Regions from separate parts of the Homo sapiens genome. Here regions 1, 2, 3, 4, 5 and 7 are each linked to region 6. The links are contacts of gene promoters, found by promoter capture Hi-C in blood cells and fetal thymus (Javierre and others, 2016). All regions are on one chromosome and are shown on one strand. The core of a region is centred on a gene start or on the middle of the fragment in contact, and the rest is flanking DNA. Distances in the headings are between cores, read along the strand shown.

What was found. The method cuts DNA at HindIII sites, captures the fragments that hold promoters and counts their contacts. A CHiCAGO score of 5 or more calls a contact.
Region 1: a fragment that was not itself captured here is called in contact with the fragment with the promoter of RTP2 in region 6 in 2 of 17 cell types (naive B cells and endothelial precursors); the score reaches 7.7 in naive B cells.
Region 2: a contact is called between a fragment that was not itself captured here and the fragment with the promoter of RTP2 in region 6, in 12 of 17 cell types (total B cells, naive B cells, non-activated CD4 T cells and 9 more). The highest score is 16.3, in total B cells.
Region 3: a contact is called between a fragment that was not itself captured here and the fragment with the promoter of RTP2 in region 6, in 7 of 17 cell types (total B cells, naive B cells, monocytes and 4 more). The highest score is 16.3, in total B cells.
Region 4: a contact is called between a fragment that was not itself captured here and the fragment with the promoter of RTP2 in region 6, in 1 of 17 cell types (total B cells). The highest score is 5.5, in total B cells.
Region 5: a contact is called between a fragment that was not itself captured here and the fragment with the promoter of RTP2 in region 6, in 4 of 17 cell types (total B cells, naive B cells, fetal thymus and 1 more). The highest score is 9.8, in total B cells.
Region 7: a contact is called between a fragment that was not itself captured here and the fragment with the promoter of RTP2 in region 6, in 6 of 17 cell types (total B cells, endothelial precursors, monocytes and 3 more). The highest score is 9.4, in total B cells.

Annotation. Positions count from the first base shown.
Region 1 is chr3:189,141,926-189,144,701 of GRCh38, reverse strand. It overlaps a transcript of TPRG1 not described here. Among named protein-coding and RNA genes, the nearest start is that of TPRG1, 29 kb to the left of the region's middle. The HindIII fragment of the contact is 1,350 bases long and covers 820-2,169 here.
Region 2 is chr3:188,956,476-188,959,582 of GRCh38, reverse strand. No RefSeq gene overlaps it. Among named protein-coding and RNA genes, the nearest start is that of TPRG1-AS1, 10 kb to the right of the region's middle. RefSeq lists a silencer at 2,089-2,383 and an enhancer at 1,899-2,433. The HindIII fragment of the contact is 1,073 bases long and covers 1,292-2,364 here.
Region 3 is chr3:188,973,145-188,975,905 of GRCh38, reverse strand. No RefSeq gene overlaps it. Among named protein-coding and RNA genes, the nearest start is that of TPRG1-AS1, 27 kb to the right of the region's middle. The HindIII fragment of the contact is 2,725 bases long and covers 1-2,636 here.
Region 4 is chr3:189,102,222-189,105,119 of GRCh38, reverse strand. It overlaps a transcript of TPRG1 not described here. Among named protein-coding and RNA genes, the nearest start is that of TPRG1, 68 kb to the left of the region's middle. The HindIII fragment of the contact is 1,962 bases long and covers 433-2,394 here.
Region 5 is chr3:188,992,255-188,995,197 of GRCh38, reverse strand. No RefSeq gene overlaps it. Among named protein-coding and RNA genes, the nearest start is that of TPRG1-AS1, 46 kb to the right of the region's middle. The HindIII fragment of the contact is 2,736 bases long and covers 96-2,831 here.
Region 6 is chr3:187,701,169-187,704,110 of GRCh38, reverse strand. It overlaps RTP2 (receptor transporter protein 2), which reads left to right and starts at 1,554. Exons shown (of 2, transcript NM_001004312.2): 1 at 1,554-2,146. The coding sequence starts at 1,983. It overlaps LOC100131635 (hCG1645011-like), which reads right to left and starts at 1,745. Exons shown (of 3, transcript NR_034062.1): 1 at 1,572-1,745. The HindIII fragment of the contact is 5,389 bases long and covers 1-2,942 here.
Region 7 is chr3:189,172,422-189,175,256 of GRCh38, reverse strand. The region is part of intron 1 of TPRG1 (tumor protein p63 regulated 1); the gene reads right to left. Among named protein-coding and RNA genes, the nearest start is that of TPRG1, 1.9 kb to the right of the region's middle. The HindIII fragment of the contact is 2,597 bases long and covers 211-2,807 here.

The DNA.
Region 1 (2,776 bases), core at 245-2,744, 1.4 Mb before region 6:
AATACCCATGAATCAGTTGTGTAATGATCTGTTCCAAAATTTCAGCAAAAACCAGTAGGAAACTCATACTATTTCCTGGCTTCACTGTTTAGTCCTGTGATAAGATGCAAGTAATCCCCTTTATTAAAAGAGAAAATCCTGTGAATCTACCAAAATATTAGCTGTTTCCAGGGCTATTGAGAAACTCCCACACCTACACCCCCAGTTATATTTTAATGCTCAGTTTGACAGCAGAACCACCTGCCTCTTTGTTTCGAAATGTGAAGTCACATCACTATTTTATGTACTGTTTCCTCTTCATTGCCTATATGTCACCTGGAGGAGTATTTGGCTAAATATTCCTAAACCCACAATTAAAGGTTAAAAATACCTTGAAATTGCAGGAACAAATGGTTGCCTATAAGTTATGTGGATCTCTGAAGTCCACTTATAGGAAACAAAGCTTTCTTGCCACAACCATATTGAATCCAGGAGGATGTAGGTGATGTCTGCTTGTTCATCATTGTACTCCCAGTGTCAAGAGCATAGCAAGGGCTCAAGAAGTATTTGTTATAGTGAGCAAGGAGAAGACAATAATGAGAATATGTATACTCTTAACAGAGATAACTCAAAGTTTTAAAATCGTAGTAAAACATGTATGACTGACATGAGAATGTTTCCAGAAAGCAGATCTGGTCATTAGACTGTGGGAAGAGTTCCTGAAGATCCTAAAGTAGGAAGCTACACAGAGAGGAAATGGAAGAGGAAAGCAAAGTGTCTGGGGGAGTTTCACCGGAAATGATTGAATAAGTCACGCTATTGGAGAGAGAGGCCCAAGCTTCAAGCCCCCAGTCTTCCACCATTAGCTGTTTCCTACTGGAAAAGCCTGCATCTTAACAGGGTCCCATTTTCCAGTAGATTTGACAGAGACCAGAATCCAAATCTCACAGGAGTGCTGTGGGAATCAATTGTGGTAAAACATATGAAAACATGTTATGAAATCAGTGTCACCTACACCTAAGTCTGGGTTGGGGTCAGCCTGAGTAAAAGACCAAGGGATTACAAAGAGGTGTCTAGGATGAATTAAGAGGTTACTTCCTAATGTGGGTTCTCAGGCTACCTGGAAAAGATTCTGACTCAAGAAAAATGTTGGCCCCCTCCAGGTTGAGGAGACCATACTCACACAGTATTGGAGCAGCTTTTGTATGACAGAGCCATACAAATATGCATCCAGCTTCCAGCTCTCTAGTCAGCTGCAATTTAGAACATCCTACTCTGAGTTTGTCACTTTTCTCAGACAACCATCTTCTCCTCCTAACTTCCTTATTTATCATCGACAGGCAGTATCTCAAGCCACTTGGGCCTGAAACTTGTGTCCTCATTGTCAACCTTGAAGCATATAGATGTCATTCGGAGAAATCCTTTGACTGCTCTCAGCCCAGACTTCCTCATCTGGAGAATGGAGATATTACCAGCGGCTCCTACTTTGTTTCAGTGTTTTGTGGGAATCATCTGATGGATGTAAAACCTTTTGGAAAATGTAAAATCCTATATAAAAAAAAGATGATCCTAAAAATTGCAATATTATAGGATTAAACCAGAACAACAACCTTCATCTAGGTTATACATGAAAATCGAGTTTAAAAATCTCTTATTTAGTAATACCAAAAGATACTGGTTCAAAGAATCATGACTATCACTTGTATAATCTTTCTACTTGTTCTCTAGCTAAATGCCTTAAATCTATGGAGTTCTAATACTGAAAGAATTAAGAAAATCATTGCCACATTAAAGGTGAAAGTTTTTAAAAATATATTAATGAGGTGGTGGGAAGTAGGCTGACATTAAAGTAGGTTTGGAAGTGTTTGCTTTCTCTAATTAAATAGAGCTAATGAGTTTCTCCACTGAGCCTGAGCACTGGGCTAAACAGTCTCACAAGCCTCTGGTTTCTGTGATCTCAGTAAGAGATGGCCAACTGGCAGCCGAAAATAATCTGCATCATGGGGTGATTCATCCTTCACACCTTTGGGTGAAACCTTCCTGTCAGAATGCAGGAACAGGTTGCAAGCACCATGCAGGGTTGAGTTAGAGTCTCTTTGGTCTTCAGAAGCTGCTGACCCCTCACTCATATCAAGAGACTGTAGCACAAGGTCACTACAACAAGAATCAGAGAATGGCAAAATGAAAGCTTCCACAGATCACAAATCAGAGCTGGGAACAAAGTGACAAGGAGGAGATAGAATTTAACTGAACCACCCATCGTTGAAAATGGGGGCAGGGGGTAGGATCTAGAGATACAGAAGGCATGCCTCTACCCTCTCCTTACTCACAAGCATGGGATATGGGTTTTAAAAAAAGAAAATGAAGACAATCTAGCATATCTTCAGTGCTTTTGTGGGGTCTGCAGGTATAATCAATCCCTTGGTGTAGTTTATAAAGCCATTTATGACCTGGCCCAGCTTTCCTCTCCATTTCTGCACATTCCCTGAACATCTCACCACCACCTCGCATCACCACGAAGATGGAAGGAGCTTCTCCCAGACCTGGACGCGTCCTCTGTACGTGCTGCCCGTCCTGCCCGAAATGACCTGTCTTTCCTCTGCACATTCTAAGTCTTCCTTAGTGGAGCCACCTGCTCAGCAAAGACATTCCTGACCACCCCCTTTCTGTCACCCTGTTTCCCCCAGTTCCTCAGACTCCTTAAACTTGGTCCCTCTTTCAGGTCTTTGAACAGGTGCTTGTCTCCATCTTTGTCATCCTTATTGCAATTTATCTCTCAGGTCTCCACTTAAATACC
Region 2 (3,107 bases), core at 579-3,078, 1.3 Mb before region 6:
GTGCTCACGAAAGCAAAGGATTTTAGTCTGGGTAAAGATGAAAGATCTATGACATAGTGTGACAGAAAAAGCCCCAGTAAGGAAGTTGAAAAAAGTGAATTCTGGCCCTGGCTCAACCACTGGCTTCTGTGATATCAATAACTAACATGTACTGAGAGCTTACTCTGTGCCATCTACTGCATTTATATCATTTAAACCTCACCACAAAACTCAGGCACAGATACTTTTATTATGCCACTTTTCAGGTAAGGAAACTGAGGTTTAGCAAAGACAAGTAACTTATTCAAGATCAAATTGCTTTTAAGTGGTATAATTCATCTTAATGATCTCAAAGGTACTTTCCAACCCAGTCCACCTATAATTGAGTGAGCTCTTGCCTAATCCTCACTCCTCTAGAGGGGTGATCCTGTGGTTCTAGCCAACTTTAAGTCAAATCCCAGGCACCTCAAGGCCTCCCAGGATGCCAGTGTTGAAAAACTGGTGAATTATTGCATAATGTGGGGTTTTACAATCATCGAAAGAATAAAACAGAAAAGAAAAATTAGCAAAAGGTAAAGCCTTAAATCTTTCCCCGTTCATACATTTCATACCTTTATTTACAAAGTTGGTAATTGTGAAGTTCATTCCATTTTGTATTTTTCTTTCTTCACTTAAAATACTATCATGAACAATTTTCCTTATTGATAATAGTTATATTTTAGAATTACAGAATTTGACTATGAAATTTTCAAGGTTCATTTCTAATTCCAAAAACAAAGTCTGGCCTGTTCTTATTTTTTTGGACTTTTTTCCTTCATTCCAACAGAGTCATTGTAATTACTACATGAGTGACGAGCAATAACCACCAAATGATACTTGGCCAAAATATCACAATAAAATGATTACCTTGTTGCTAAATATTTAAGTTGCTTCTAGTGTATTTGGCTAAAATATCACAATAAAATGATTACCTTGTTGCTAAATATTTAAGTTGCTTCTAGTGTATTTGCTATTACACATAATGCTGCAATGAACATCTTTGCACAGCATATTATTTCTATAACATGCATTCCCCAGAAGACAAGGCTACAACGAGTGTGTCCATGTTTATGGCTTTTACATTTTGAAAAAGCAAGATGTAATATTGATAGTGTCCACATATGGCCCTACACTGTTCAAATCTTAAGACATCAAACATTGGATCTTGTTCTAGATCCTGAGTGACTATTACTGAATTGCTAAAGTGAACAAACATTAATTTAACAGAGGGTTTGAAAGCTGAATTCTTGGGGCCTAGTTCAGAGACAAAGCTTACTTACTGTCAAGGGGAAAAGGATCTGCGGAAAGTGCCTGCAAAAAGGAGACTTATGGAAATAAAAACGGATCTTACAGGAATTGTTGAAAGACCAAATCCTCAGGAGATTAGCACTCAGGAGATATTAAGTAAACCAGTTTTCCTGGATCTCACTCTGATATCTGAATCTTAATACTAAAGAAATACTTTCACCTATTACAGTTCAGTGTCAGCTAATCAGAAATTTTGGCTAAAGCTAGGAATCATATAAATACATATATTTTAACTTAAGACTTTCACTTGCCAGTAGGTAGAGCCAAGGCCTCTCTTTAAGTGCACATTTTCCATTTGTGAAGCTCCATCTCATTTTTCTTGAATAAATCACTCCCATCATGCATCCTCTATTAGTTGAAGTTTCAGGTATTTTTGTTTTTGTTTTCTTTTCTTTTGTTCTTTGTAGCAGATAAAAACCTTAGAAACTTGCACAATTATTCTGGATTTTAATCTTTGTGTTATTCTTCTACAGTTATCTCATCCACAAACTAATTTTAGATCATTTTTTCAGCAATTCTTCCCTCTTGAGCCTTTCCAAAGCAATCAATTTAATTTTTATGGACACAGTCTCTTTATTTTTATACTTATATTTCATCTATTTGCATAATATTTAAATTATATAATTGCATTTACTAATAAAAGTAGCATAAACGGGTTTGAGGAAAAAATCAGCTGGTTCTTTGTATGCATCAGATTTGATTAATGGGAGAAGACAGACATCAGGAAACTAGAAAGCAGCCTACCACCCATGAGCACTTAGCATGCTATGAGCATCTGTCAGAATGTACAAAGGGAATGGAGAACTTAGGTTGGTTACCTGAGAGAGAGTTACATCTACTGAACAATTAAGTGCTCCTCATCACGAAAGAAAAGGAAAGAATGCGGACTGAATCCTGTGCCCTGAAAGTCGAATCAGCATATACCTGCTGTTTCTATGTCACCAAGAGGCTGATTCCAGGTGGGAGACTCTGGAAGATGAAGCGATTGGATCTTGAACCCAGAGCACCAGCAAAAGGTCCTGAGTTCCATAACAAGCTTTACTCCAGAGTCGCTGGTGTTGGGGAAATATTTGTAGTCATTTGGTCTAAGTTCCCTTGTTTTAGAATTAGACAATTTGACTCTCACATTTCTAAGGTTCGTTTTTAATTCCAAAACAAAGTCTGGTTGTTATCATTCTTTTTGGCCTTTTTCCCTTAGGTCCAATGCAGAGACGATGACCACTAGGGGTCAGACTTTTTACATTACTCCTCTTGAAAGAAGGAACCCAAGTCTTGGATTTTTTAACTGGGGAAAAACTAGAGAGGTCGTCTATCCTGGTAAGTAATGCTTCATTTAAACTCATTCAACATGTGTGACTATTATATTCTTAAAGATTTCTAAGAAATAGAGGTTTCATGATGCTCCCTTCCAAGGAAGTTTTTGATATCTAACCTAGATCCTTCAAATGTAATTTCAATCTATTTCTTATTTGTGATGTCTCAGTGGAAACTATTAATCATTGACTATTATCCTCTGAGTAAGAAATGTATTTATCTGAGCATGTATCAGTTCATGTCTCATTTCTCTAGCTGTCAAATAGGGGTCTAGGACTAGAATCACTTTTTCAATTAATAGTTCAATAAATAAGCAAGAAAAATAAGGTTCCAACTTAAATAACTCAAAATCAAACTGCCAGTCAATGGCTGGGCCAGGATTAAAATTGGGTTTTACATAACTCCAAAGTCCACATTGTTCTCACTAAGAACACTTCTTGCTGTCTCTTACTTAGTGCTCCTGCTGG
Region 3 (2,761 bases), core at 25-2,524, 1.3 Mb before region 6:
TAGTATTTATGAGTTAATTCATTATCCGTCACTTTTGCCTCTCTAACCAAGCTCTACTGTTGTCTCCCAAAGATTTTCAAAGATGCTGCTTTGGTGCTCATGGGTGGTTAAGCAGGAGTGAAGCTCTCTCCAGGGTTCTCTTCCCCAAGTCCCAGGCTGGCCCCTTTGCATTTGACTTCTGAGGCAGAAGAGTCTGTTCACGCTGCCGCACATGAGCCTATTATGCATTGTTTCCATTTCTCCGTCTACCTTGAGTAGCCTAATTACAAAGCAAGGAGCAATAACTGATATATCTATTATATGATGTTCTTGCAGCTGCTCTTTACCCTCCCCTCCCATCTCTCTGGGTCCCCTATGTAACCATTTTCTGACTCAGAGCACATTTGAAGCAAACTTGGCTCACAATGCATTTTGCAAATAAACCACAAAATAACATGATTGTAAAAAATGTTAACTGCAAAAGTAATAAATAAGAAACTAAATAAGTACGTAACCACAGAGCCTTGTCTGGCTCCTCGGCTCGCTGACCACAGCAGCTCTCTGTTGTCCGTCCTCACTACGGGACAGAGTGAGAACGCTAAGAAAAGGGGAAGACACACCATCCTCGCCCAGGGGTCTCATAGATGGAAGTTACACATAGATAGATTGTTCTCTCATTGTAAGACAGAAAGTTTTATGTCAGAGCTCCCCAATCTAGACAAGCATTGTCAGAGAAGAGGAGAAGCAGGCTGTTTGTCACCATGGTTTCATGTTCACCTATTGCTTTTGTGAGCACCTAACAGGGGTCTGGCTCTGTGCCTGGAGGCATACACATAGCATCTCATGTCACTCCTTAGCAACCCTCAGATGTGGGTATGATTAGTCCCAGTGCACAGAGGAAGAAACGGAAGTCCACCAAGAATCGAATAGCAGTTAGACCACAATATTTCACAGATGCTGCAAAGACTTTATACAGATGAGAGTGGAAAGAGGAGAGTGCAGCAGAAATACGCTGTGATGTCCTTCTCCCCCACCACCACTTCCAAGCCTGGCTGTTGAGATGTGCCCAGTGTCAAAAGAATTGGGGATTAAAACACCAAAGCCTAAATATCAGACTTGCCAATTATTTTACTTATATTTACTTTGAAACCCTGCCAGTCTAAAGACCGTCTTCACCAGAAGACTTCTGTGGCTGGGAAAAATCTCTCAAGGCAATGACCAGTGTAGTCCAGTCGAAAATGAAATGGGAAATTGAAAGCTAGGCCTGAAGCTGAATAATACAGTGCAAAATTTTCAATTCAGGGTCAGTACACAGTAATATTTTATGCCTCAGGACAGGGCTTAAGTATTAAGGACAGAAAAAGAGTCACTAATGTTTAATACATACAGAGACAGCAGCACGCTAGGCCCTATGGCCAGGACCCCTACATCACAGAACCGTGGAGGACCCTATTCACATTATCAGCTATGAATAGTGTCCCTCCTCCAGGGTCACACAACACACATGACCTGCAGAGCCCAAAACAGGCTTTTCTCAGGGAGATACCAAACACAAAACAAAAACCAGGGAAAACACAGTCTCAAGTCAATTACCAAGCAAGGGAAAGAGAAAGGTCCACATGCAAATGACAACTAGGGGAGGGGGTAGTTATAATTGCTCTGCATGAATTGAGAATGGAACCACTGCCCAGTTTACTAAGCATGCTCACATGCATTCATGCCTTTTTTTTCACAATAGCTCCACGAATAAGGGTTATTATTCTTATTTTCTGAATGGGAAAACAGGGGCTCAGAGAGGGGAAGGGACTTTTCTAAAATTTCCAACTTTTAGGTTGGAAGCCAAGACCCATATCCAAGTAGCCCCTGCCTCAGAGTTTCTCCCACTGCCCCCTCACTGGCACATTGGAAATGCAGAAGAAGAAGCATCAGCAGGAGCTCCGTGCGCCAGACTCCAGAGGGGAGTTGCAGAAAGCCTCAGTCAAGGAAGAAGCAAAAGAAACCTTAGGAGTGGAGGAGGCATAGACGCGATAAGCAGGAGTTTGGATGAGAGTGTATGACATAATGTGATCCACAGAACTTTGGAATTTATTAAAAGTCAAACCAAATTATTTCTTCTCTGATGAGCAGCATTCCAAATACTGAAGGTTTATGGTTTAAATACAAACTCCATTGTAACTCAATTAGGATGGAACTATTTCTAAAATCGATTATGCATTTGTCTATCTTCTAAGACAAAGCATAAAGAAAATAATTTAGCCTTTCACAAGGGGGCACACTGTAGGCTGTCACTTTCTTCACTGCAATATAATATATGATGACATTCTAGAGGACTCTCTAAATTTAAAGCACCTCTTGACTCCACACTCGATCCGGATTGCTGTGATTTTTAAGTGACTGAGGATTCGCGGCAGGGGTTCTGTTTATCTTGTTTTCTGTCTCCTCTCTTCTTATCAAGTCATCAACCTTGTACTTGTCTTCCTTTTTAGTAGGCCTGCCTATTGTAACCCATTCTTCCTCATCAAATGTGCTGTTTTGGGTCTTGTATATATCTATAGGTAGCCAAGTTTATTAACAGTTTGTGTAAACTAAAATTATTCAAGCTCTGAGTGAGGAACCATAGTAATCAGCAAATGATGTAGACATTAGCACACGAAGCTTGAGTCCTTCTTGGAGCTGTGCCTGCCTCCCTCACTCATTTTGCCAGGTTAATTTGTGTCTTTTTAAGATCTAACTTAAATGAAAAGATCTAAGTTAAATGAAACCTACCCCAGGAAGCACTCCA
Region 4 (2,898 bases), core at 164-2,663, 1.4 Mb before region 6:
AGAGTTGTAGAGAGCTTTGTAAACTATAAACGGTTTCTACAAACCACTGAGCCATGAAAAGAAATTTTATTGGAAATCTTTAGCATTTCTCAGTATGAGTTTAGAAGAAAGAGTTTGGTTAGGGAATTAGAGTAGAAGGACCCAGGTACCTGGCTTGTGCCAAAGTGTTCTGTATCAGGTCTTGGAAAAACTTGAATTATGATTTTTCAAAGCTGATGGGGATGGGTCAGTAAAATTATGGAGCCAGAGGAGACCCTGAAGGTTGAGGAGTTATGCAGATGAAGGTAACAGGGCAGAGGAAGGCATTTTAAATATGAGACAAAGAGCAATACTGTCCAAAGGAAGGAGGCACATCCAAGAAAATGCACACATTAATAGTTCAGGTGGGTATATGTTGTGTGAGCTAGTCTGGTTAACAGGGAAGCTAAAGCTTAACTCGTGAAACAGTAGACATTGATCTAGTAGACCGAGGGTTCTTAATCTCCAGTTTCTGTTCGTCTTCTGAACAAGTAAATATAGTCTCTTATAGGTACAAATCGGGGCTTTCTTCTGACACCCTACAGTTTCCCTTAGGGAATGCGCCAACTCAGACTGAGCCAAGTGAGAGTCCTGGGCTAATATTTATGTTGACTTAAGTCTGATTAGAAGACAAGATGGGACATAGAGTTTGATTAAAATTTTATTGGATAATCATGCTGATTGAATTTTAAAAGATAATCTGCTGTAATAAATTCTCCCTTAATTTCCCTTTGCAATTCCAACCCAGATGAGTGCTAGGATATTTAGGTTGCATTTACTGAATATCTACGCCTGTCAAGCACTGTGGTTAGTGCTCTATCGTCAGTACAAGCCTGTGAGGTAGATGCTATTCTCATCTCACAGAAGAGGCTCAAAGAGGTTAATTTCTTTCTTTATTTATTGAGTCAACATACATCAGTTAAGCACCTCCTAAGTGCTACTGTTGGGGGGCATCTACCAGGAGCTACCATGGGGACACCTACTGCCTTGTCTATGTAGCTCTCCCTTATTCTGGGAACAGTACCTCTTTCGTTCTTGGCTCATCCTCTATCTTTAGTCTATCCATAAGTATCACTAACATTTCTGTTTTCTCACCTAACCCCTCTTCCTTGACCACATCAATGGTAAACTGACTTAGTATTTTGGAATATGGGACTAAGACAAAGTCAGGATAAAGGCTCATCAATGACTGAAAACTATAAAATGAAAAACTCAGGAACTGTGATGGGCCGTGATTTTTGCCAGCTAGAGGAAGTCCACGGTGAAAGGGAAAGATGAAGCTGACATGATGAGAAACAGCAGAGACACAAGACAGAGGCTGGATCCTGATAACAATCATTACTCCACATCATTGCTGTGTCTTTTCAAGAACTGGGTGTTCACCTCTTTCTTAGACCCCCTGATTATATCCCAGTATCCTTCAAAAAATTCTTTTGGTGTGAGCTTGGCTTTTGGGGGTTGTTTTCTGGCTTATTTTTACTTCTAATAGTCTGTCACCATGTTAGGCATGTAAGCCAAAAGATTAAAAAACATACAGTCTCTGTCTCATGATATATAAGAAATATTTCATAAGGACACATGGAATGATTGTCCGTGGTGTAGGGAAGGAACATGATCCCCTAGGGTATGTATCTGAATCATCCAACTCTAGTTTTCCCTTGACACTCCTCCTCTGCAAGATCTTGATCCACTTTCTCCCTCAGGGTCTGGCATCTCTGGCTAAGAATTTTGTAATAGTGATGCACAGTAATAGATGAAAGGGGACTGCAAACATTTTCTGCAAAAGGTCAAATAGTAAATATTTTAGCTTTGGGGGATACATAGACTCTGTTACAACAATTAAACTCTGCTCTTTTTATCCAAAATCAGCCATAGAGCACACTGAATGGGCATGCTTCTGTTCCAATAAAACTTTATTTACAAAAACAAGTGGCAGGATGACTTTGGTCACTGGGCTGCTGTTTGCCACCCTGGCTCTAGGTATTTGGAGGCAAAGTAAAGTTGAGAATCATGATGTGGAGAGTTAATTGATTGGCAGAAATAGGTACCAGGTGCTCTGGAATTACAGACGAAGCACCAAAATAAACCACAGGCATCAAGAAAAATATATTTCTGCAAAAGATGACACCTGAGCTGAGACAAGTTTAAGAGGAAGTTAGCCAGAGCAAGGAGAGATGAACAGAAAAATCAGCATTTACAAGTGCAATGAGCTTTGGTAGACCCTGGCGTTTGAGGACCTACCAGAAGTTCCCCATGATTGGGCAAAATAAGTGTTAGGAAAAATGGCAAGAAATATTAACATGATGAAGCACAAAAGCAAGATAAAGTTTTAAAAAAATTAATAAACAAAGAAATTTGAACTTTATCCTAAAAGCTTTGGGGAACCATGGAAGAATTTAAAACAAACAGAATGAACATCGTCTGATTCCTTCTTTTTTAAAAAAATTAATTATCTCTTAAAGCTATAAAAAGTAGGAACAGGGAGGGATTCCAGGTAGGAAAACATGGCAATTATTCAGACGTGAAGGGATGAGGGCCTGAATTTAGGCAATAGAGTCAATTTACATACTAGAACTGATGGAACACAACTTAGAGACAGGTAACATGTAGGGCTGAGAAAGAAGAAGAAAACTATTCACAAGGAAATTGGATGGATAAGAGGGAAAAGCCACCAATATTGGAACATGTGAGGCATGGTGAATGCAGCTTGGTACATGTTGTGTGTGAGATGCCTGTGGGCCATTTGAGTGGAAATGTAGATGGTGAATAAGAAGCTGGCTCTGGAGATAGATAAAAAGTCAGCTTTTTATATACATTTGCTTACTACATACAGCCCTAGGAGGTAGAAACTATCATTACTCTCATTTCACAGATGAGGAA
Region 5 (2,943 bases), core at 214-2,713, 1.3 Mb before region 6:
ACATCTTCTTTAGAAGGCTGTATCTTATGGACATATTTGCTGCAAGAAAGGCTAGGAAATGATTTCTAAAGCTGGACATATTGTTACCTTAAGCTTGTATGCGGCTCCCATTAGTAAAAGAAAAAAGGACAATGGATGTTGGATATATAACTAACAGTTGGGTACCAATTGCTACATGCACTTGATGGATGATTTAGTGCATTTGGTTGTGTATAAAATAATAATGCAGAGTATTTTATAAAACAGAACATCTGGAAACAAATTAGTTATATGTATTTAAAAATAAGAAAAATTAATAAACAAGGCAACTATTGACTTCAGGGAAAACAAAGAACTGTATAAAAACTCAAGCAATCATAATTTATTATTTATCTTAACAATAAACCTTGCTTTTACAGTCATAATAATATAAACATTGAAATCTTTCTGACTTCAGAAGATAAGAAAAAATATTTCAAACTTAGCCTTTAAAGTTCAATTTATTCATCCTTGCTCAACTCCTGAGCCCCAGGTTACAATGCATCAAGAACCTCCCTGAGGAGACTAATAATAACTAATATCACAGACACCCTGGGTTCAAGTGGATATCACATCAATTAAGACAACTCTCCGTCTTAACTCTTTAAAATATCTCTAGCAAGTGGTTACTTAGCTTCTGCTTGAACACATCCACTGACAAGGAGCTCACTGGTCTGGACAGTTTATTCAATTTCTAGACAGCTCATTCAATTTCTGGACAGCTCTAAACACTGCAAATCATTCCCTGTAATCAGGTGAAGGGACCTACTCTAACTTTAATTTAGTCTTTCTTTTTTACTCCCTTAAGTCCTACAGAACATACAGTTCTTCTTTCACAGGAGGAATAGATATCTGCTATTTGAATACTATTGCCAAGCTATGCACTCTCTGTCCTCTTTATGTTAAATTCTTTAGGCCCTTCAAACATTTTAAAATGATATGGTTTTATATTCCAGTGACATTTTAGACATGTTATCTGGAATACATGTCATCTAGTTAATGTCCCTCTTAAAATGTGGCACCATAGCAGAACATGGTTGCCAAGGAAAAAATATGAAAAACCATGTTTCCAAATTTCATTTTCTATTAGGAGATACCTTGTAATATGATTAAATTTCCTTTTAAATCTTTTTGGGATCGTCTTGGAAGAAGATAAGATTGTTGGTCTTTAAAAAAAAAAACTTACGGAAAAGTATGAATTCCATCTTCTAGAACTTTACGACATGTTTCCATTCACTATCCACAATACTAAAAAAGTGCCAAAGTCTAGGTATGAAGTAAGAAAAAATGGGGTCTGGGTGAGCCATTCTCTCTTTTAGGAATCAAAGAAGAATTGTAAACTAAGATATTTTTCAACAATCCTAAATATCAGATTACTTTAGGATAAAATTATTTTCCAATACTCTGTCCTAGTCACATGGAGAAGATGTCCCAATTTGCTGAATTCAAACAGCCAGAAGCTGTTTCTGATCTGCAGTCTTCTTCAGTGTTCTTTTTCTTCGTATCTGCTTATTCCTCTTTATACTGATTTAGAACACACTAATGGAAGTAGCCTGACACGTGGCTTTCCATTTTGCCACTCTTTCTCAAGAAATGTGATTAAAGAACTTGGAGTGGGCTGCTTTATGCACAAATATTCAGACAGTCTCTTAGCAATAAATGGCTGTCGCTTCTATTATCTGTCTGGCTCTGAGTTCTATTATCTGTTGTGAATTGGTGCAGGGCTCTGTAAAACAGTTTTTAGGCAGCCTCATTACACCCTTCCACACCTTCTGCTCCATCTGAGTGATACTGCTGTGATTGCTGGGTAATGTTTGCCATTAGACGAGGCACAAAAAAGAATCAAGCTATGACTAATTCACTCGATGGCTGTGTGCCCTGTGTCATGCTCATTAACACCTCTCAACTCTGTTATTAAAGAGAATCACACAGCAGACCTCAGCGGGCTCACATTTATACTATAGGCTGCCTTATTTTTCCATTGGAACCCCATTTTTATCACAGACTAGTCCTGAGCACCCTTACCTTCTACCCCAGGCCTATTCCATCCTGTTACACTCATAAATGCTTAGGAGAATCTACTGATAAGAAAGGCCTTTAGATTGTCTGAAAATGAGGGTTTTGCCCACTGAAGAATCAGCCAATTTGATTTCAGCTGAAAAGTCATCCTGAGATGCTCCTAATGAAAGCTCAATGAAAGAAATAACAATAACAACACCTTAAACTATTTGTTGAATTTATTAAAGTATATCCAGCCCTTTTATAACCATTATTTCCCTTGAGGTTCACAGCAACCCTGTATGGTAAGCTGCATAAACAGTACCCTACTATTAGCTTCAACACTAGATTTCTAACTCAGAGGCGACATTATATAAAAGACTAATAGCTCATCTACAATGCTGAGCAAAATGTAAAGGAATAGCATCATTTTTGTTAGGCTTTCTCAAGCATAGTAATCAAAGTAATAGAAAAAGCAGAAAGAGAGAGCGAACATTTTTCTTAGTACTGACTCATGTGTTCTAAGATGATAGGGGCATCATACTTACCTTCCTTAGTCATTTAACTCCAACTGAATAGTCAGTCAGTCAGAAGTCCATAGGACTTTGGGGTCCATAGGGTAAGTATTGCAATTGTTCACCAATATCTAGATATGCTCTACTTCTGAGTACATGAAGGATTCCACTAATCCACCTCTCGAAGTTGGACATGGCCATTTGACTTGATTTGACCATGAAATGTGAGTGGAAGCATTTAATTGCAGATACAGGATTCTCTAGTTTGGCTCTTCCCGTACCATAAGAATTGTAAAAGCTTGTATCTATATGGGGAGACCAAAATATTTAAGCAATTAAAATACTGAGTCAGCACATGGGACACAGTTGTCCTGTAGAAACACCTAGATCTTCAGTAGAAACCGAATGAGCA
Region 6 (2,942 bases), core at 305-2,804:
ATAATGAAGCTGCCAGAGTGTGATGTGGCCACAGCTGTACACAATATACATTTGTGAGCTCTTAAATCGTGGGTTCTGGAATAAGATAGTGTCATTCGCGGAAAATTGAAGTAGTAATTGTGCTCACTGATTGTATGAAAAGTGAAAACAGTGCTGTTACACAGAAAGATGAATTCTATTGGTCTCTGCTTAGAAGCTGCTATGCTAAATTAAACCTGATACTAGGCCTAAGGGGATTGCATTATTTGAGGAAAAAAGAAAATACAGGTAAACCCTGACAATTCTCATCCTCTTTCTGTTTTTCCTTTATTGCCATTTGTTCTGGGAACAAGGGTATACTATTTCTCAGAGGTTCTTTCCTGGCACGAGGGTCTAGGCCAGGCCATAAGCTCATCTCAGCTTCGTTCAGTTCCTGGCCATTCATGGATCCCTCTGTCTCACCTGGTCTGGTAACTGGCTTCTAAGGGAATCCCCAGTGAGGTTTGAGCTACCCAGTCCTGAGAGCCTGGGCCAGTAATTTTCCATTTCCAGGCCTCAGTTGTTTTAATTCAATGTCAATAAATTTTGGTTAAGAAATGAAGAGTTCAAGAAATAAACCAGATTTTTAAAAATAAAAGAGCTCTTCTAGAGCTGTCAGTCAATGGTTCAAAGACAATTGTGTCCTTTCTGAGGTCTTTAGCACAAAGCCGCTAGAGTAACACTTTTCATTTCAAGAGAGAATCCAGTGACATTGTCCCTGACTTCACACTTCCTGAAAACCACTTGGCAACTCAACACCAAGAGCTTCCGGTTCTTAGCAACCTGTTTCACTTCTTGAAGCTCTTTACTGTTGGAACTCTGCGTGTCTAGGGATCCAGACTTCCGGGTTAAAGAATCGTAAGATGATTACAGTTGGAAGTTGGACCAAAGCTAGGGTAAGCAGCCATATGCCTGGTCTTTTCCATGCTCAAGGCAGCCTCCCTTCAGGTAACCGTGTCTTCACTTGGATTACCAAATTTGAAGTCAGATTCCCCTCTGGTTTCTAAAGAATTTGAATTGGGCATCACAGAGCTACGGATGCTCTCTTGCTCCAGCTCAGCAGTAATGGAGGCAGCAGGAGCCTGCAGCACAGAACAAACTCATTACCCCAGCAGCCACCTTAGCCTGGCTTGGGACCAGGAACTGAATATGGGCTCTAACAGTTCTATGACGCTATGAATCTGAAATGTTATTACTGTGCTTTGCATGGCATATGAAATTACATTCTAGCTCACCAACTGGTCTAAGATTGCCCTGGGCAAAGAGATGTTACTTCTCACTCAATTCCCTGTTAGGAGCACAATAGTACTAAAATAAATAAACAAATGAGCTCGGTTTCAGAAGGCCTAGATCTGAATCTTGGATGAGCCACTTAGGGGTTGCATAAACTTCAGTTTCCTGATCTGATCTGCTTTGGCCAGCACACAGGTCAAGCGGTTTGTGCTAGGCACATGGTAAGTGATGGTCACAGCATATCAGGGGGTGTGGAAGCAGCAGGCTCTGCCTTTCCCTGTCCCTCATTTCTCCTTGACTTCCTAGGGTGTCGTACTTACCATAGCACATGATGTGGAGAATGCTAGAAGAGCAGTTGGGTGAAGCAGGGCCACCAAATAGTCCTTGCCTCCTGGAGACCTCTGGAAATCCAGATGAGTGTGGTCTGAGGTTGGGCCTCCCACTGTGCTTGCTCCTCTCAGGCCTACCCAGCGCTGCCTCTGAAGCCTAACTCAGGGCCCTGAAACTCCCCCTTGGGGCTTCCCTTCTCCCCAGCCCTCACTCTTGGTGCCCTGCCTGGCTACCATGGTAACAGGTTCCAGGGTAACAGAGGAGGGAGCTGGGTCCTGTTTACTCCCAGTCCTGCCGATGAGGATTCTGACCGTAGACACTGAATTGTCCCGTACCTATCCGTGCTCTTTCTGTGTTCTCACCAGGGCTGAGCTCGAACTGCCACCTCTGCCAGCAGGACCATGTGTACCAGCTTGACCACTTGTGAGTGGAAGAAAGTCTTCTATGAGAAGATGGAGGTGGCAAAGCCAGCGGACAGCTGGGAGCTCATCATAGACCCCAACCTCAAGCCCAGTGAGCTGGCCCCTGGCTGGAAGCAGTACCTGGAGCAGCACGCCTCAGGCAGGTGAGAGGTTCAGTGGGGAGGGACCTTGCAGACAGCCCCTGGGTCACAGCTGTGGGGTACTTTCCAAGGAGAGACAGAGCCCAGTCGCGGGCTTATTCTGGTGTCAGCTCAGATGGGGAAAAAGACAAAGACAGCCGGCTGGGTCAGAGAGTTCTTGCTTTTAATCCTAGCAATACCACTAACTCCCTGGGTGACCCTGAGAAAGTTATGTTCCATCTTTGGGTCTTAGTTGTCCACATTAAATGAAGAGCTGTAATATCATCTATGTCCCTGCAATCTCTGACATTTAGAGTGAGTTGGAACTGAAGGAAGGAGGCCATGAGGTCCATTGGGGAAAGTTTTAATCTAGGAGTTGGGGGAATGCAGGGGGTACAGCTATGCTCTGTTCCTAGATATGTTTAGTGAATTAATCCAATTTGATCTGAATACATAAACATTTATTGACCACCTGCTGTGTGCTACGAACTGGCTCTATATAGCTAAGTAGCCTTGTAAACTTGGCAAGTCTGTTTCCCTTTCTGGCTCTCAGTTTTTATATTTACAAAATGAGGGGGTTGGTCTTAGATAATAGATCCAATCCACTCTAGCTCTATTATCTATGCACCTGTGATAAAAAGATTTAGCTTTGAGCAAAACTTTCTTTAGGAACTTAGAGCCCAGGGTCCCACTCTTTATAGGAGCTGCACATCTACCACAGGGCAAAGAGTCCTTGAGGCCAAGGGGACGAGGCCGTCTAAAGTCCACATGCCTTTCCTCCTTTTAGATCATGATTGGGGACTGGGACTACAGAAATTCC
Region 7 (2,835 bases), core at 260-2,759, 1.5 Mb before region 6:
ATTTCATCCTTACAATTATCTCTGATGGCAACCTACCTAGTTGCCATAAATCTCTTCTTCGTGAGACCTCAATATTTGCTTTCTTCTTCGTCTTGAAATATTTATCATATTCTGTCTTGCATTATAGTTACTTGTGTACACATTTTCAATACTAGATGGTAAGCCCCTTTGAGAAAGGGTCTCTACTCTTTACCCCTAAATCCCTAAGCTTAGGGTTGTATAATACACCATAGGTGATCAAAAGGTGATTATTATATTAGTGGGTGAATAAGAGAAAACATATCATTAAGCTAGTCTCTAGTATTTCAGCAATTTGGATTCTTTGGAAACAGGGCATTATATTGCTATCTATGTGCTATCATACATCATAATTTCTTTTCTTGTTTTTATGCCATTGATCGATTGAGTAAAGAGGATTACCCTGCAAGTATCAACTGTCCTTCCTATTCTTTTATAGGCATCTAAATATTATGCTGCAGCAGTGTCATCTTGCTTAATACTTTAGCATTCAAGTCACTGAGTTTTGATAGCTAGCTGAAGAAAATATCCTGGGTAGGTATCAGAGCCAACGGTATGTTCTACTGAAGTCATCATATATCCTATATCTCTTACATAGTGAGAGGTTAGGAACAAATAATTAACTTCACCTCTTCCCTGGTGCCATTAACCTGTAGCCTGGTCTGTCATTATGTAGAACTAGGTTTCCGTTGAAAGAGAATGATTGAAAGGAATCCTAATACCTAAGAGATTGGAAGAGATCAGAAGTGGAAAATTCAAACACTTGGTAGCCTAAATCAGGTAAAATGGGAGCTGTGGAGGATGGGGGAAAACATGTTCTATCTACAGGAAGAAGTTGCTGCCCGGCCCCAGCACAGGTGTTATCCATGAGGGGATGTGGGTCCATTATTATCAGATCTCCTGATCTTCCTGAAAACAAGATATCTGGATTTTTTACAGGAAATTTCCTAGATATCAAATACTTTGGAACTAGTTTTATCTTGTTTAACATGGCAGCACAAACAAAGCACATCTGCATGCTGGATTCACCTGTGGCTGCTGCTCTGCAAGCTCTGGAGTAAATGAATTCTCGGACTTGACGCTGCCATTAGATTAAACAATGTTGAGTAAAATATCAACTATCACTTCAAGTTTTAAAAGGATCAAACTGAGTGGCACTTATTTAGGAAGATCCCAGAAAATATAAAAATCCAGACAGGCTGAAGAAAATGAAGATGCCACCACCTCTTGCCCATCTCCCCATCTTATACCTAAGGAGCAGCTCCAACATTTGGCCGAAGCAAATATTCCAGAAGAACCAAGTCAATAAAGAGAGAGGCTTCTCTGACAGATTTCCCTGCTCTAAAGGGCATGATACCATCTCCAGTAGATGCTAAGCAAAGGTCAAAGTGCCCTAAAACTCTTAATTGGAAGAAATCTTAAAGGACATCTAGTTACAGTCTCCAAAATGACATGGCTAATGCTTCTGCTTGGGACTCCTAGCACCATTCACTACATATTGTGGGCAATGAAAGAGTAAGAGACCCATATGTGACTTGCAGCTCCAATGATACTGGCTGTGTGACTTGTGCATATCACTTCATCTTTCTGGGCCTCAGTTTCTCTGTTTTGAATAAAGTAATCAATTAAACGATTTCTTCAGGATCCTTACAGCCAGAAAGACACCAAGAATATATAGAAGTTCCAGCCTGACCAACATGGTGAAACCCCGTCTCTACTAAAAATACAAAAACTAGCCAGGTGTGGTGGTGCATGCCTGTAATCCCAGCTACTCAGGAGGCTGAGGCAGGAGAATCGCTTGAACCCGGGAGGTGGAGGCTGCAGTGAGCCGAGATCGCGCCACTACCCTCCAGCCTGGGCAACAGAGCAAGGCTCTGTCTCAAAAAAAAAAAAAAAGAAGAAGAAAAGAAAGAAAAAGAATATATAGAAGTCTGCCAAAGATTATATAGCATTACAACCCAATGCATTTGTGGTGGCCCCAAGGGATGACTATCAGTACTGTCATAATAAACTCAAACAGACACACACACACATACACACATGCACACACACACAGAGGAAACATTTCCTTCCACAACTAAGAATGATATAACCTTTTGAGCATGAAAAGAAAAATGATAGCTAAAATTAGCATCTTAAAAAGTAAACTACATAATAACTGAAGATGAGATTTCCTTAAAACTGTAGAACAATGAGATACTATGATAGCTGTCACAAGAGAGGAAATTGCATGAGTGTATTTGAAAGGATTTGGGGGTGTTTTTCCCCCATTGAGATTTGCTTTTCTACATACCACAGTGTGACTGAAAAGCTAAAATATTTCCCCAGGGCCTGTATGATCTGTGCCTCACTACGCTGCCTCTGACATTTGGAGAGTGTCATTTAGCCCCGAATTAAAACCTGCTTATACAGAGATCTGGAGGATGTCTCAGGCGCCAAGTAGTCATCGCTGTCTCATTTGCCTATCACCTTTCAGTTTACAACTCCCCTTTACATACATGCCCTCGTTTGTTCTCTAAAAACAGCCCTGTTTGATGGGACCTATATATTATTATGAAATTTCCCTCAGATGAATTCAAAAATAACCCTCTCAAACTGCCTGCAAAGAAATAATCACCTTTTGTTTGCCATTTAACGGTTCAGAAAGGCTTTTCACTTCTTTTGGCTTTTGGGGATAAGGTATGACCTGCTGGGTTCTATAATAGAGGAAGAGGGAAGAAGGAATCAAATCTAATCTTGGCCTTAACCTGCTGATCCAATTGGAACAAATCACTTCAATTGACCAAGCTTCAGTTCACTAAGCCACCAAATGGAGAA